2 separate regions of the Homo sapiens genome follow, and region 2 is linked to region 1. Evidence: promoter capture Hi-C in human tissues and cell types (Jung and others, 2019). All regions are on one chromosome and are shown on one strand. Each heading gives the region's core, a stretch centred on a gene start or on the middle of the fragment in contact. The rest is flanking DNA. Distances are from core to core; before and after follow the strand shown. Region 1 holds the start of GNG5 (G protein subunit gamma 5). Region 2 overlaps TTLL7 (tubulin tyrosine ligase like 7).

The links. The method cuts DNA at HindIII sites, captures the fragments that hold promoters and counts their contacts. A contact is called where the count stands out against the background at its distance.
Region 2: a fragment that was not itself captured here is called in contact with the fragment with the promoter of GNG5 in region 1 in 1 of the 25 tissues and cell types used here (hippocampus).

What each region holds. Positions count from the first base shown.
Region 1 is chr1:84,501,068-84,507,999 of GRCh38, reverse strand. GNG5 (G protein subunit gamma 5) reads left to right here and starts at 1,419. Exons shown (of 4, transcript NM_005274.3): 1 at 1,419-1,564; 2 at 1,699-1,989; 3 at 6,030-6,174. The coding sequence starts at 1,909. The coding sequence ends at 6,155. SPATA1 (spermatogenesis associated 1) reads right to left here and starts at 1,614. Exons shown (of 14, transcript NM_001397487.1): 1 at 1,582-1,614. RefSeq lists silencers at 1,694-1,773, 2,024-2,153 and an enhancer at 3,813-4,318. The HindIII fragment of the contact is 15,510 bases long and covers 1-5,117 here.
Region 2 is chr1:83,984,462-83,991,379 of GRCh38, reverse strand. The region is part of intron 1 of TTLL7 (tubulin tyrosine ligase like 7); the gene reads left to right. Among named protein-coding and RNA genes, the nearest start is that of TTLL7-IT1, 3.6 kb to the right of the region's middle. The HindIII fragment of the contact is 6,292 bases long and covers 1,738-6,918 here.

The DNA of each region.
Region 1 (6,932 bases), core at 170-2,669:
TCAATGTTTTATTTTTCTTTTGTATCCTAAATAGAATCTTTAAACACACGCTACAAAAAAATAACACCTGGTGTTTGAGACAGCACTCCAGTCTGTGGTTTCCCAATGCAGCAGTTAATAAAAAAGCAACAATTTTTTTTTTTTCTGAAACTGTTTCGGCCTAAAACACTGCTTATTCCTCAACAGTCTCCCTCACAGAAGTAATTATTGGACCATATATTCCCTAAAATCTCTTCCAGCATTAACATACCACGGTTCTAAGAGTTCAGTGATATATTTTACAACTACTGTAAAACAGATCATTCTTTGAATAGATACTTGTGTTTAATCTTACAAATCTGTAAAGTATGAATGACGTTTTAGCATTATACAGTCAACAAAGCACCAAAGGTGAAATAATTACAATACCTTTTGGGAAAAGACAATATTTATTGAGATAGCTTTCACATTCTTTTTACATATAATGTCATTTCATTCCGAAAAACAACTCTACGAAGCTGTATAATTTACTTTGAAATAAGGAAATAAAGCCTCAGTAACTTAAGTGGCTTGCCCAAGAATACCGTAAGTAGCAGAGCCAGAATTCAAACCCTGGTTTTAACCCCAATCATTACATCCGTATGAATTAAGTAAAATGCTAAACTTACGATGTACATTTTTGCGAACTGATATAAACTGTTGAGTAAATAAATTAGATTTTGTTGACCAGTGCAATTACACATGCTTCCCTAATAAAAAATTTGAAATCCATTAATGATAAAATTATTAACATTAATGGAAAACATCAGCGCATTCGGAGATTGACTACCCGAAAAGAAATAGGAAACATCTGCCCTTAGTGCTGTGACATAACACACATATTTCCGTGGATGAAAGAAAGACCTACTGGCTGAGCCTATTTTGTTTGGTTAGACCCTACCCTCTCTCCTAAAAACTCCTTTGGTACTCAATTTCAAGCAGGAGGTAATAAATTACAACGGAAATACTAAAGAGCAAACTTTCCGGAAACACAAAAATAAGTTTTATTTTAAAAAGTACAATAAGCATTAATTCTCCAGAGTAAATGGGTAACCGAGCAGACAGGTGTAATCTTCAGCCAGCACCTTGGCTTCTTCACAATCTCCTTCAGAAAAACCGATTCAAGAGCTAAGAAGCCAGTAAAGTCAAACCTCGAGAAGATCCCTTCTCCAGCGAATCAGCGCCCCTGCTCCCCGCCCGCCCGGCTCCGCTGGGTACGCGACAGCGACCTCCGCGCCTGCTCTCCGCCTCGGGTCAGCGGGGCTGGGGGTTGGGGGTGGAACTGAAAATGCCTGTTGGCCAAACTCGGGTCACAGAGAGACACGCCTGTACGGGGCGGGGGTGTGCGGGTGACTCACGCCGGGTGCACAGTAGCTCCTACGCCTCACCCAGTATCTCCCCTCACTTCCCTCAACCCTTCCCACAAACTGGGAGGAAAACTGAGACCTCCTGGTCACCCGCCGCCGGGCCTTTTAGAAACTCCCACAAGCTCTGCCTTCCCTCCCTGGTCCTCTTCAGACCCCCTCTTAGTTCTTCGCGGCTAACGGTAAGCTCTCTCCTTACCTCTCCCTAATCGGCCCCTCTGGAGAGGAAAAGAAAACTTAAGAGTCGGGTCGCGCTAGCCTCCAGCAGCCGCCGCGCCCACCGACTGCTCCGCCCCTTCTCCTCCCCCTCCTCCAGGCTCGCGCTCGGGGCCGGGTGTGGAGCTGGAACAGAGGGCTGGCAAGGCGCGCATGCGCACCGAGGGTGGAGCCGCTGAGCACAGAACCGGAAACTTAGAGACAAAGTTCGGAGCCCCGCCCCCGCCGCGCGCCGCTGAGTTGTCTGGCCCCGCCGACCCACGGCCCACGACCCACCGACCCACGAATCGGCCCGGCCGTCGCGTGCACCATGTCTGGCTCCTCCAGCGTCGCCGCTATGAAGAAAGTGGTTCAACAGCTCCGGCTGGAGGCCGGACTCAACCGCGTAAAAGTGAGCGGGGGCGGGCGGCCGAGGCGGGAGGAAGGCGGCGGCGGCGGGTGGGATCCGGCGGCCCAGCTGGCGGGGGCGGGCGGGACACGCGCCGGCCCTCGCTTCCCCTGGAGAGGACGCGCGCTCAGCGGCGGCGATCGGGGAGCGGCCAGCTTTAGAGCAGGCGCCGCGTGGGTCTACGCTGTGTTTTAGGGGGACGATTAGTTCGCCCTTCCGCCCCAGGACTTTCCGAGGCGGGCTGGCCCCTGGGTTGAACCGTGGCCGACATTCCGGTCCTCCTCCGTCTCTACCTCCCTTGGCAGCCTTCTCGGCTGGTCTCACCAACAGCTGCGCCTCCGCGCGCTGTCCGCACCCTTCCTTTCCCACTTTGCCAGCCTCCTGTTTCTCATCGGACAGGGTATTTTCCGACTTTTGATTCAGAGCAGACTTTTCTCCCATTTGATCTTTCCCAAACCTACTTCCTTTAGTATTAAATTCTTACCTTCAACTTCTCTTGTCCGTTGAACACATACTTTTAAGCGAATTATTGCATAACTTAAACTGTGGATTGAATAAGCATTTTTCGAAACGATCCTGGAGTGTAAAGTTCCGGTCAGTGCCCCGTACAACCTCGAACAAAGCGTGCATTTCATACCTATGGCACAGTTTGCTCATATTTGACCTTGGGGATATCGACTGGTCCGCATGCCGGAGAAAATGATTATTGTGGGTAATTATTGGTCTTATTTTGGCGTCTGGTTAGTATTGGCCTTGTCTTGGGGTACTTTGGGAGAAAAAGCCTTTTGTCTGTGTTGATAGAATAACTTGACATTCAAGTGCTGTTCTAAGTATTTCCTGATTTTTACAGTCCTAAATGGATTGGCTTCTTTCTGGTACAATAGGTCAGGCTACATGTGAAACACTTCTGCAGTTAAAAAAAGAAACAAGAATGTAAATCATGTGCCCTGTTAAAAGCAGCCAGTTCCTAAGATGATTTGATTTTATACTCATCAGGCTAGTCTTTATTACTTGCCGAAATGTTTTGTGAACTGAGAGGGTCTCTAAGCTTTCTTAACTAGAAGTGTCAGAGACCTAGCTTACTCAGTTGTGGTCACCTCAGAAGGGAAGGGAAATTCTCATTCGTCTTGGTGCAGGATCCTCCTGAGAGAGAGTCTCCCATTTAGTTTTGTTAACTAGAAATGTCAGGGACCTAGCTTACTCAGTTGTGGTCAACTCAGAAGGGAAGGGAATTCTCATTCGTCTTGGTGTGGGATCCCCCTCACGTCCAGTCCTTGAAATGCTGTAGACCTCACTGCAGTTTGGAATCCATTTCTCTACTCTCCCAATTCTTACCTCATCACAGTGGTTTCTAGTCAGTCTTGGCTGGATTTGGCTCTGAAACTCGAAATCATTTATTTCGTAACCATTAAATGTCATTCAGGTGTGCCTTTATCATAGATAGGATGGACCAAGAAAAAAAAATGGGGGTGGGATAGTGAAAGCAATAAATTGTACATCTTTAGTCTCCAAAGAAAATGACATGAGGTTCTCAGGCTAAAATACTCCAAGAGCTTTACTTTGAAAACCCTAGCTGCTGCTCCCCTAATTCCCCAAAACTGATCCTACCTAAATCTTCAGTAGACTTCTGGTTCTGGTCGGGATCATTAAAGGCACCAGACATGATTTGGTTTTGGAGTTATTGCCTGATGTTAAGGCTGTAGCAAGAAGGGGAGCATCCCCTTTTGTACTTTTTAATGAGCTTTTCTTTAGACATGTTGCTAAATGTGGTTTAACGTTGTGTATCTGTTTTATCAATGACTGGGCTAGGTGATTTTTTTGTGAGATTTTTAAACTAGCACAATCTTACTTTTAACCTTTATGTGTGAGTACAATTGATAGAACTTACCATAAGTGCTTGACAAACTGTCATAGGTAGGTCAGGACATTTTTGAGAGTGAGAAGGGGCACTAATAGGCCAGGATTACAGGGTTTCAACCTCCTGGATGGTGATTGTTACAGTGCCTTAGGGGCTAGCAGCTTGTTCCAGTTTTAGAGTCTTTGTCTCAGCTTTCCTCACTGTTTGGAATGCTGTTTCTCACTGATGGTTATTTGGCTGGATCTCTTGTCATTGAGATCTCAGCTTCAATGTCACCTCAGACACCTTCCCTTAGGTGGGCACCCAGTCACCATCTAAAAGATTATTCATTTTACTACAGAGCACCTTGTCTGTCATTTTCTCTGAACTGTTAGCTCCATAACAACAGGGCTCTGGCTGTTCTTATGTATTCTTAGTGCCTGTAAGTATATGCGGCACATAGTGGTGCTTGAAAATTGTGAAAGCGAGTTACATTGGACCCCACCTACACTTTAAACAGAAAATTAACAGGTACTCTTTATGCTTCCTGCTGGTTAATATGAATGAAAACACTAAACACTATTACAATATTTGGTGAAAAATGACACCATTGTTCCCCTACTTTAGCTACACTTCTTTTGGAAGGCGGGGGATGAGGGGGTGTAGTCATTTGTAAAAATACTTCTTTTACATAGGAGCTAATAAACCTATGGAACTCATTACTCTGGACTGCTGTATAAGCAAAACACACAAATAGATTCGATAAGCGTTTAGATTCATCTTAGGATGAAGAATTATTAGGTTGGAGGTACAGCTGTAATCTGCAGGGGTTCTTGGTATAGAGAGCATTTGTGATGCTATTAATTCCCTGAGGCCACATATCCAGCTGGATGGACTGGACACCTGCTCCCAGCCTCCTTGCGGATAAAGACTGAGAATAAAATAAATGAGTATTTCTCCCACTTTTTAAATCTCAGTTCAAGACTTCAGATATTAGATGCATTTGGGGCATGTTTTAGTCATTCATGTTCCACGTCTGAACGGGTCCGTTAATGTTATTAAACTAGACAGTGACAGATTTCTGCCCAGTGTCACGTGACTGAAAGGCTGCTAGCAAACTTCAATTTAACAGTTTTTCTGAGCAGCCTGCCTTTAAGAAACTATTGCCTTAAATATGATTTAAGTGTTAATATACATATACAGAGCCACCCAAACAGGACTTAAGGAACTTCAATGGCTTTATGGTTATTTTGTTTATATCCTACATCACCTTAGCAGAATATATAGAAATAGTAGATGTCTAAGTGAATGAATGCATGCCTCTTTTAATTTGTTTTAGTTTAAATGCAAGACAGTATAAGGGTCTGATAAATTTGAGGATCAGTATACTGAATGCATTCTTAGTGTTGGCTTTTCTAAATTATGTGCTAGTTATCCCACATTATGTTCATTCACAGTAGCATTTTTCCAGTAATACTGCTTTCAAGACAAAGTAATAGTTTGCTAGAATGTTATTGCTTTTTGTTTAACCCTTAATGTTTTTAATAAGATGTTAAGTACCCTCAGGTTTGCACTTGAACAGCCTATTATTAATAAGCAAGATGTGCTACGCTTTGCAAAAATCAACATAATTCTACTGTTTGTACTCAGTCATCTGATGCTTCTAGTAACCAAGCAAAAGAAAACATACTTAATTAAATCAGTCTTATTTGCAAGCACTAGTTTTAAGTATTAAGAGCTCACTAGGCTGGGCGTGGTGGCTCACACCTGTAATCTCAGCACTTTGGGAGGCCGAGGTGGGCGGATCACGAGGTCAAGAGAGAGAGACCATCCTGGCCAACACGGTGAAACCCCGTCTCTACTAAAAATAGAAAAACTAGCTGGGCGTGGTGACGTGCGCCTGTAGTCCCAGCTACTCAGGAGGCTGAGGCAGGAGAATCGCTTGAACCGAGGCGGAGGTTGCAGTGAGCCGAGATCGCACCACTGTACTCCAGCCTGGCAACAGAGTGAGACTCCGTCTCAAAAAAAAAAAAAAAAAAAAAAAGAGCTCACTATTTGACTTAAGTCTTCAATTATTATATAGTATCTTCTTTTGAAGCAAGAGAAGTACTGTTTTATTGTAAGTACAATATTTCCAAAGATTGAGAAAACCTTCATTAAAATGTTCTCACCATCTGGCACTTCCCCCCCTCTTTGTTATGTATAGGTTTCCCAGGCAGCTGCAGACTTGAAACAGTTCTGTCTGCAGAATGCTCAACATGACCCTCTGCTGACTGGAGTATCTTCAAGTACAAATCCCTTCAGACCCCAGAAAGTCTGTTCCTTTTTGTAGTAAAATGAATCTTTCAAAGGTAAGTTTCCTTAAATTTAAAACAAAAACCCACACTGTAGGAATAACTAGTCTTCTCTTTCTTTGCAGCACTTAAAAGATCATCCCATGCCCTTTCCTTTGGCCCTCCATTTCCAGTATTTTTCTGTTTTGCAAGGAAAGTGAGGATTCATGAAACTTGCTGACTTAGTAGCCATGAAGGCTAATCGTTTCTATTTTACCATAAAGAAGGTTAAGTAGAGGATTTAATAACCATAAAGAGGGTATAGGAGAGTTACTACAAAATCCCACTGCCGTAACAAGCCATGTGTTACTTTTTAGAGCATTGGCCTAATGGAGTCCCCAAGTACTAGTTTTGTTTTTGTGTACCTGGCAAATATTTAGACAGTTTTTAAAAAATCTGCAATGTTTATGGGGATAACTTAAAGTACTACCAACTGATTTGGATTAACTCTTGATGTTATTGCTCTAACTGAACCCAGCTGTAGAGCAGTATAGCAAAGATTGGGAATTGGAAATGCAAGAGAAAGTCAGATGTAATTGAGTAAGCCAGTGTGGTAGAGGCGTTTGGACTGAGGTAGAACAGACTTTATATTTTGTTCTCATTTGTTAGATTAAAGATAAAACATGAAGGAAATGCAGTATATAAGTTCTTGGTGGCAAACAGACAGTGGACTGAATTTCAGAGAATTAAAAACTAAAGACCCTGTTGGCTTTATTAAAGCATGCTTCAGTACATTAATTTGTGCCTTCCAGATCAAATGTCATGTGTACAAAATG
Region 2 (6,918 bases), core at 3,634-6,133, 520 kb after region 1:
ACCACCATGCCTGGCTGTATAATTTTTTTTACTGTGATAAAAACATCTTAAACATTTTTAAATGTACAGTGCAGAGGTATACAGTTCACATTATTGTGAAACGACCTTCAGAACATTTTCATCTGGTAAACCTCAAACTCTATACTCATTAAACAACTCTGCTTTTCACCCACCTCCCCCTAGCTTCACCCTCTGCCCCTGGTAACCACTATTCTACTTTATGTTTCTATGAATTTGACCACTTTAGATACCTCATACAAGCGGAATCATACATACTTGTCTTTTGTAACTGGCTTATTTCACTTAATATAATGTCCTCCAAGTTCATCCATGTTGTAGGATATGTCAGAATTTCCTTAGTTTTTAAAGCTGAATACTATTCCGTTATAAGTATGTACCACATTTGTTTATCCATTCATCATCCATGGACAGTTGTGTTGCTTCCACCTGTTGGCTGTTGTGAACACTGCTTCTATGAACATGGGCATGCAAATACCTCTTCAAGACTGTGCTGTTAATTTTTTTCAGATTATACCCTGAAGTGAAATTGCTGGAGTATATGGTAGTTCTATTTTTAATTTTTGAGGAACCTCCATATTGTTTTCCATAGGAGTTGCACCATTTTACTATCACACCAACAGTGCACAGGTGTTACAATTTCTCCTCAACCTTGCCACTTATTTTGTGATATTTTGATTGTAGCTGTCTTAATGGGTGCAATATGATATTTGTTACAGATTTGATTTGTATTTCTCTTATGATTAGTAACATTGGACATCTTTTCATTTGCTTATTGGTCATTTGTATATCCTCTTTCTATTCAAGGCATTAGCCCATTTTTAAATAGGGTTATTGGAAGTCCTAGCCAGAGCAATCAGGCAAGAGAAAGAAATAAAAGGCATCCAGGCCGGGCGCGGTGGCTCACGCCTGTAATCCCAGCACTTTGGGAGGCCGAGGCGGGTGGATCATGAGGTCAGGAGATCGAGACCATCCTGGCTAACAAGGTGAAACCCCATCTCTACTAAAAATACAAAAAATTAGCCGGGCGCAGTGGCGGGCGCCTGTAGTCCCAGCTACTCAGGAGGCTGAGGCAGGAGAATGGCGTGAACCCAGGAAGCGGAGCTTGCAGTGAGCCGAGATTGCGCCACTGCAGTCCGCAGTCCGGCCTGGGCGACAGAGCGAGACTCCGTCTCAAAAAAAAAAAAAAAAAAAGGCATCCAAATAAGAAGTCAAATCATCTCTCCTTATTGATACGATCCAATACCTAGAAAACCCTAAAGACTCTGCCAAAAAGCCCCTGGAACTTATAAACAGCTGTTATACAGTTTCAGGATAAAAGACCAATGCACAAAAACCAGTAACATTTCTATACACCAATAGCATTCAAGCTAAGAGCCAAATCAAGAATGCAATCCCACTTACAGTAGCCACAAAAAAAAATCCCCAACATCAATAATAACAACAACAACCAAAGCCTAAGAATACATCTAATCAAGGAGGTGAAAGATCTCTGCAAGGACAGCTACAAGACACTGCTGAAAGAAATCAGAGAGTACGAAAAAAACATTCCATGCTCATGGATTGGATTAATCAATATTGTTAAAATGGCCATACTGCCCAAAGCAGTCTACAGATTCAGTGCTATACTTATCAAGCTACCAAAGTCATTTTTCACAGAACTAAAAAAACAAAACAAAACAAAAACTATTTGAAAATTCATAGGGAACCAAAAAAGACCCTGCATAGCTAAAGCAATCCTAAGCAAAAAGAACAAAGCTGGAGGCATCACAATACCTGACTTCAAACTATATACTGTAAGGCTGTAGTAAACAAAATAGCCATAGTACTGGTACAAAAACAGACACATAGACCAGGGAAATAGAATAGAGAATCCAGAAATAAAGCCACATGGTTAACAAAGTTGACAAAACTAATATGGAAAAGACTTCCTGTTTCCCTGTTCAATAAAAGATACTGGGATAACTGGCTAGCCATATGCAGAAAAATGAAACTGGACACCTACCCCTCACCGTGTAGAAAAACTAGCTGTTTTAAAGATTTAAATATAAGTCCTCAAACTATAAAAATCCTATAAGAAAACCTAGGAAATACCCTTCCCAACATTGCCTTGATGAAGGATTTATGGCTAAGTCCCCAAAAGCAATTGCAGCAAAAAAATTTATAGGTGGGACCTAGCCAAAGTAAAGAGCTTCTGTACGGCAAAATAAACTAACAGCAGAGTAGACAGACAACCTACAGAATGGGAGAAAATGCCTGCAAACTATGTATGTGACAAAGGTCTAATATCCAGAATCTAAAGAACTTAAACAGTTGAACAAACAAAAAACAACACCATTAAAAGGTGGGCAAAAGGCCAGGCGTGGTGGCTCATGCCTGTAATCCCAGCACTTTGGAGGGCCGAGGAGGGCGGATCACAAAGTCAGGAGACTGAGACCATCCTGGCCAACATGGTGAAACCCCGTCTCTACTAAAAATACAAAAATTAGCTGGGCGTGGTGGGTGCACGCCTCTAGTTCCAGCTACTTGGGAGGCTGAGGCAGGAGAATAGCTTGAATCCGGGAGACGGAGACTGCAGTGAGCTGAGATCGTGCCACCGCACCCCAGCTTGGAGACAGGGCGAGACTCCATCTTAAAAAAAAAAAGGTGGCCAAAGACACGAACAGACACTTCTCAAAAGAAGATGGACAACTGGCTAACAAATATGACAAAGTGCTCAACATCACTAATCACCAGAGACATGCAAATCAAAACCACAATGAGATACCATCTCGCATCAGTCAGAATGGCAACTAACGAAAAGTCAAAAACCAACAGATGCCAGCAAGGCTGCAGAGAAAAGAGAACGCTTATACACTACTGGTGAGAATGTAAATTAGTTCAGTCACTGTGGAAAGCAGTTCAGAGATTTCTCAAATAACTTAAAACAGAACTACTATTCGACCCAGCAATCCCATTACTGGATATATATCCAAAAGAAAATAAGTTGTTCTACCAAAAAGATACATGTACTTGTATAATATGTTCATTGCAGCACTATTCACAATAGCAAAGACATGAAATCAACCGAGGTGCCATCAGCGGTGGATTGGATAAATAAAATGTGGTACATATACACCATAGAATGCTACGCAGCCATAAAAAGAATGAGATATCTTTTGCAGCAACATGGATGCAGCTGGAGGCCATTATCTTAAGCAAATTAACGCAGGAACAGGTAACCAAATACTGCATGTTCTCACTTATAAGTGGCAGCTAAACATTGGGTACTCATGGACGTAAAGATGACAACAATAGACTCTGGGGATTACTATATGGAGGTAGGAGGGTGAAGAATGTGGGCTGAAAAACTACCAATTGGGTACTATGCTCACTACCTGTGTGATGGAATCAATTATACCCCAAACCTCAGCATCATGCAATATACTCAGGTGACAAACCTGTACATGTACCCCCTGAATCTAAAATAAAAGTTGAAATTATAGAATAAATAAACAAATAGGGTTATTTGATTTTTTCTTGTTGAGTTGTAGTTCTTTATATATTCTAGGTATCAACTCCTTGTCAGATAATATGTTTTGCAAACATTTTCTCATTTTGTACATTGCCTTTTCACTCTGTTGATTGTGTCCCTTGGTGCACAAAAAGTTTAAAGTTGATTTAGACCCATTTGTTTATTTTTGCTTTTGTTGCTTGTGTAGCATTTGTTGTTATTAGCAGTTTTAAAAAAAATCGTTAGAATTGTTTCAAATTGCTGTTTACTAATTCCTTTCCTCCTTATTTAAAGTCCACAGTAGTATTCTTGAGACTATGTAATGATGATACATGCCATAATTATTTTACAAATTGAAATTAATTTCAATGGAATTTGTCTCTGTGGAAGAGCCACTTTAAAAAAATCTATCTAATGTAGAATTTTGTTGTTGTAACTTAACCAAATGTTAATTGAAATTGTGTTAAACCTATACGTTGATTTAGGGAGAATTGCCATCATCACTGCGTTGCTTCTTTCAATCCATGGACATGGCATGTCCCCAGGTGTTTAAGTCTTCATTGATTTCTTTCATCAGGATTTTATATTTTTTTAATTTTTTTTTGTTTTTTCTTTTTTTTTTCCATGTAAACCTTCCTGCACAAATTATAATTTTAATTATGTAAATCTTGCACATGTTATCTTAGATTTATACCTATATTTTAAATTTTCTTTGGAAAATTATACCTGTGTTTTAAATTTTCTTTGGAAAATTATACCTATGTTTTAAATTTTCATTTCCATTTCTTCATTGTCAAGATATAGAAATGCAATTGATTTTTGTGTGTTGATCTTGTGTTCTTCACTTTGAGGGTTTTTTTTAAATGTAGACAATCATGTCATCAGAAAATAGAGACAGTTTTATTTCTTTCCAATCCATATGTCTTCATTTTTCTTGCTTTATTGCAATGGCTGGAACTTCCTGTACTATGTTCAATAAAAGTGGTGAGAGTGGACATCCTTGCCTTCTTCTTCTTCTTCTTTTTTTTTGAGATGGAGTCTTGCTTTGTTGCCCAGGATAGTGTGCAGTGGCACGATCTTGGCTCCCTGCAACCTCTGCCTCCCGGATTCAAGCAATTCTGCTGTCTCAGCCTCTTGAGTAGCTGGGACACAGGTGCATGCCACCACTCCTGGCCAATTTTGTGTTTTTAGTAGGGGATTTCACAATTATTGGTCAGGCTGGTCTCGAACTCCTGACCTCAGGTGATACACCGGCCTCGGCCTCCCAAAGAGCTGGGATTACAGGCGTGAGCCACCATGCCTGGCTGCCTTCTTCTTAATCATAGAAGGAAATCAGTCTTTCACTATTAAATGTAATGCTAATTATGTAGGTTTTTTGTACCTGCTCTTTACGGGGTCAAGAAAGTTTCTCTCTGTCCTTAGTATGCTGAGACATTTTATCCTGAATGAATGTTGGATTACATCAAATACTTTTTTTAGTATCAATTGATATGGATGTATGATTTTTCTTTCTTAGCTTATTGATATGGTAGGTTACATTGATTTATTTTTGAATATTGAATCAGCCTTGCATACATGAAATAAATCTCACTTTGTCATGACAGCACATACTTATACATATATTATACATACACACACATTATACATATACACACATTAGGTACACACACAATATATCCACAAATATTGTTAGATTCAGTTTGCAAAATTTTAAGGATTTTTGCATCTAAGTGAATGAAATATATTGGTCTGTAGTTTCTTTTTCTGGTGCTTCTTTGGTTTTGGTTGTCAGAGTACTATTGATCTCATAAAATGAGTTGGAAAGTGTTTCTTCTTCTATTTTCTGAAAGAGTTTGTTTAAAAATGGTGTTAATTCTTCATTGAGTGTTTGGCAAAATCCCATAATAAAACCACCTTGGTCTGGACATTTCTTTTTCAGGATATTTAATGACAAAATCAGAATTATTTCTTTAGTAGTTATAGAACTATTTAGGTGATCTGTTTTATCTTGCCTGAGATTGGGCAGTTTGTGTTTTTTTAAGAAATTGATTAGTTTTGCTAAGTTGTTGAATTCATAACAGTAAAGTTATTCATAATTTTCCCTTATTATCCTTTTATTGTCTTTAGATTCTGTTGAGATAGGTTTTTTAAAATTTTTGTTTATTTATTTATTTATTTATTTTTAAGAGACAGGCCTTGCTATGTTGCCCAGGTTGGTCTCGAACTCCTGGGCTCAAGCAATCGTCCCCCGTCTTTGTTTCATTTTTGATGTTGGTGACTTGAGTCTTATCTTTTAAAAAATCTGTGATGGTTAATATTAGGTGTCAACTTGGTTGGATTGAAGGATGCCTAGATAGCTGGTAAAGTATTATTTCTAGGGGTGTCTGTGAGGGTACTGCCAGAGGAGATTGACATTTGAGTCAGTGGACTGGTAGAGGAAGACCCACCCTCATTGTGCCAGTGTGGCTAGAACAAAGCAGCCAGAAGAAGGTGGGATAAGCTTTGCTTGCTGAGCCTTCTGGCTGCCTTCTTTCTCCAGCCTTGGATGCTTCCTTCTGCTTCTCCTGCCCTTTGGACCTCAAACTGCAGGTTCTTTGGCCTTTGGACTCTGGGACTTGCACCAGGGAATTGCCAGGGGTTTTTGGGCCTCTGGCCACAGACTGAAGGCTATACTGTCGGCTTCCCTGGTTTGAAGCTTTCGGACTCAGACTGAGCCACTACCAGCTTCTGTCTTCCCCAGCTTACAGGCGGCCTATTGTGGGACTTTGTCTTGTAATCCTGTGAGCCAATTCTCCCTAATAAACTCCCTTATATATGTAGTCATATATCCTACTAGTTCTGTTCCTCTGGAGAACCATGACTAATACAAAATCCTTGTCAGTTTTGCTAGATGTTTATCAATTTTATACATTCTTTTAGAAGACTTTATTTTATTTTATTTTATTTTGGATACAAGGGGTACATATGCAGTTTTGTTACCTGGGTATATTGCATGATGCTGAGGTTTGGAATATGGATAGTCCCATAACCCATTTAGTGAGCATAGTACCCAATCAGTAGTTTTTCAGCCCACGTCCCCCTCCCTCTCTCCCCTCTCTAGTAGTCCCCAGAGTCTACTGTTGCCATCTTTATGTCTGTGAGTACCCCATGTTTAGCTGCCACTTATAAGTGAGAACATGCAGTATTTGGTTTCCTGTTCCTGTGTTAATTTGCTTAGGATAATGGCCTCCAGCTGCATCCATGTTGCTGCAAAAGATATAATCTCATTCTTTTTATGGCTGCATAGCATTCCATGTGTATATGTACCACATTGTATTTATCCAGTCCACTGTTGATGGGCACCTCGGTTGATTTCATGTCTTTGCTATTGTGAATAGTGCTGCAGTGAACATATTATACAAGTGCAT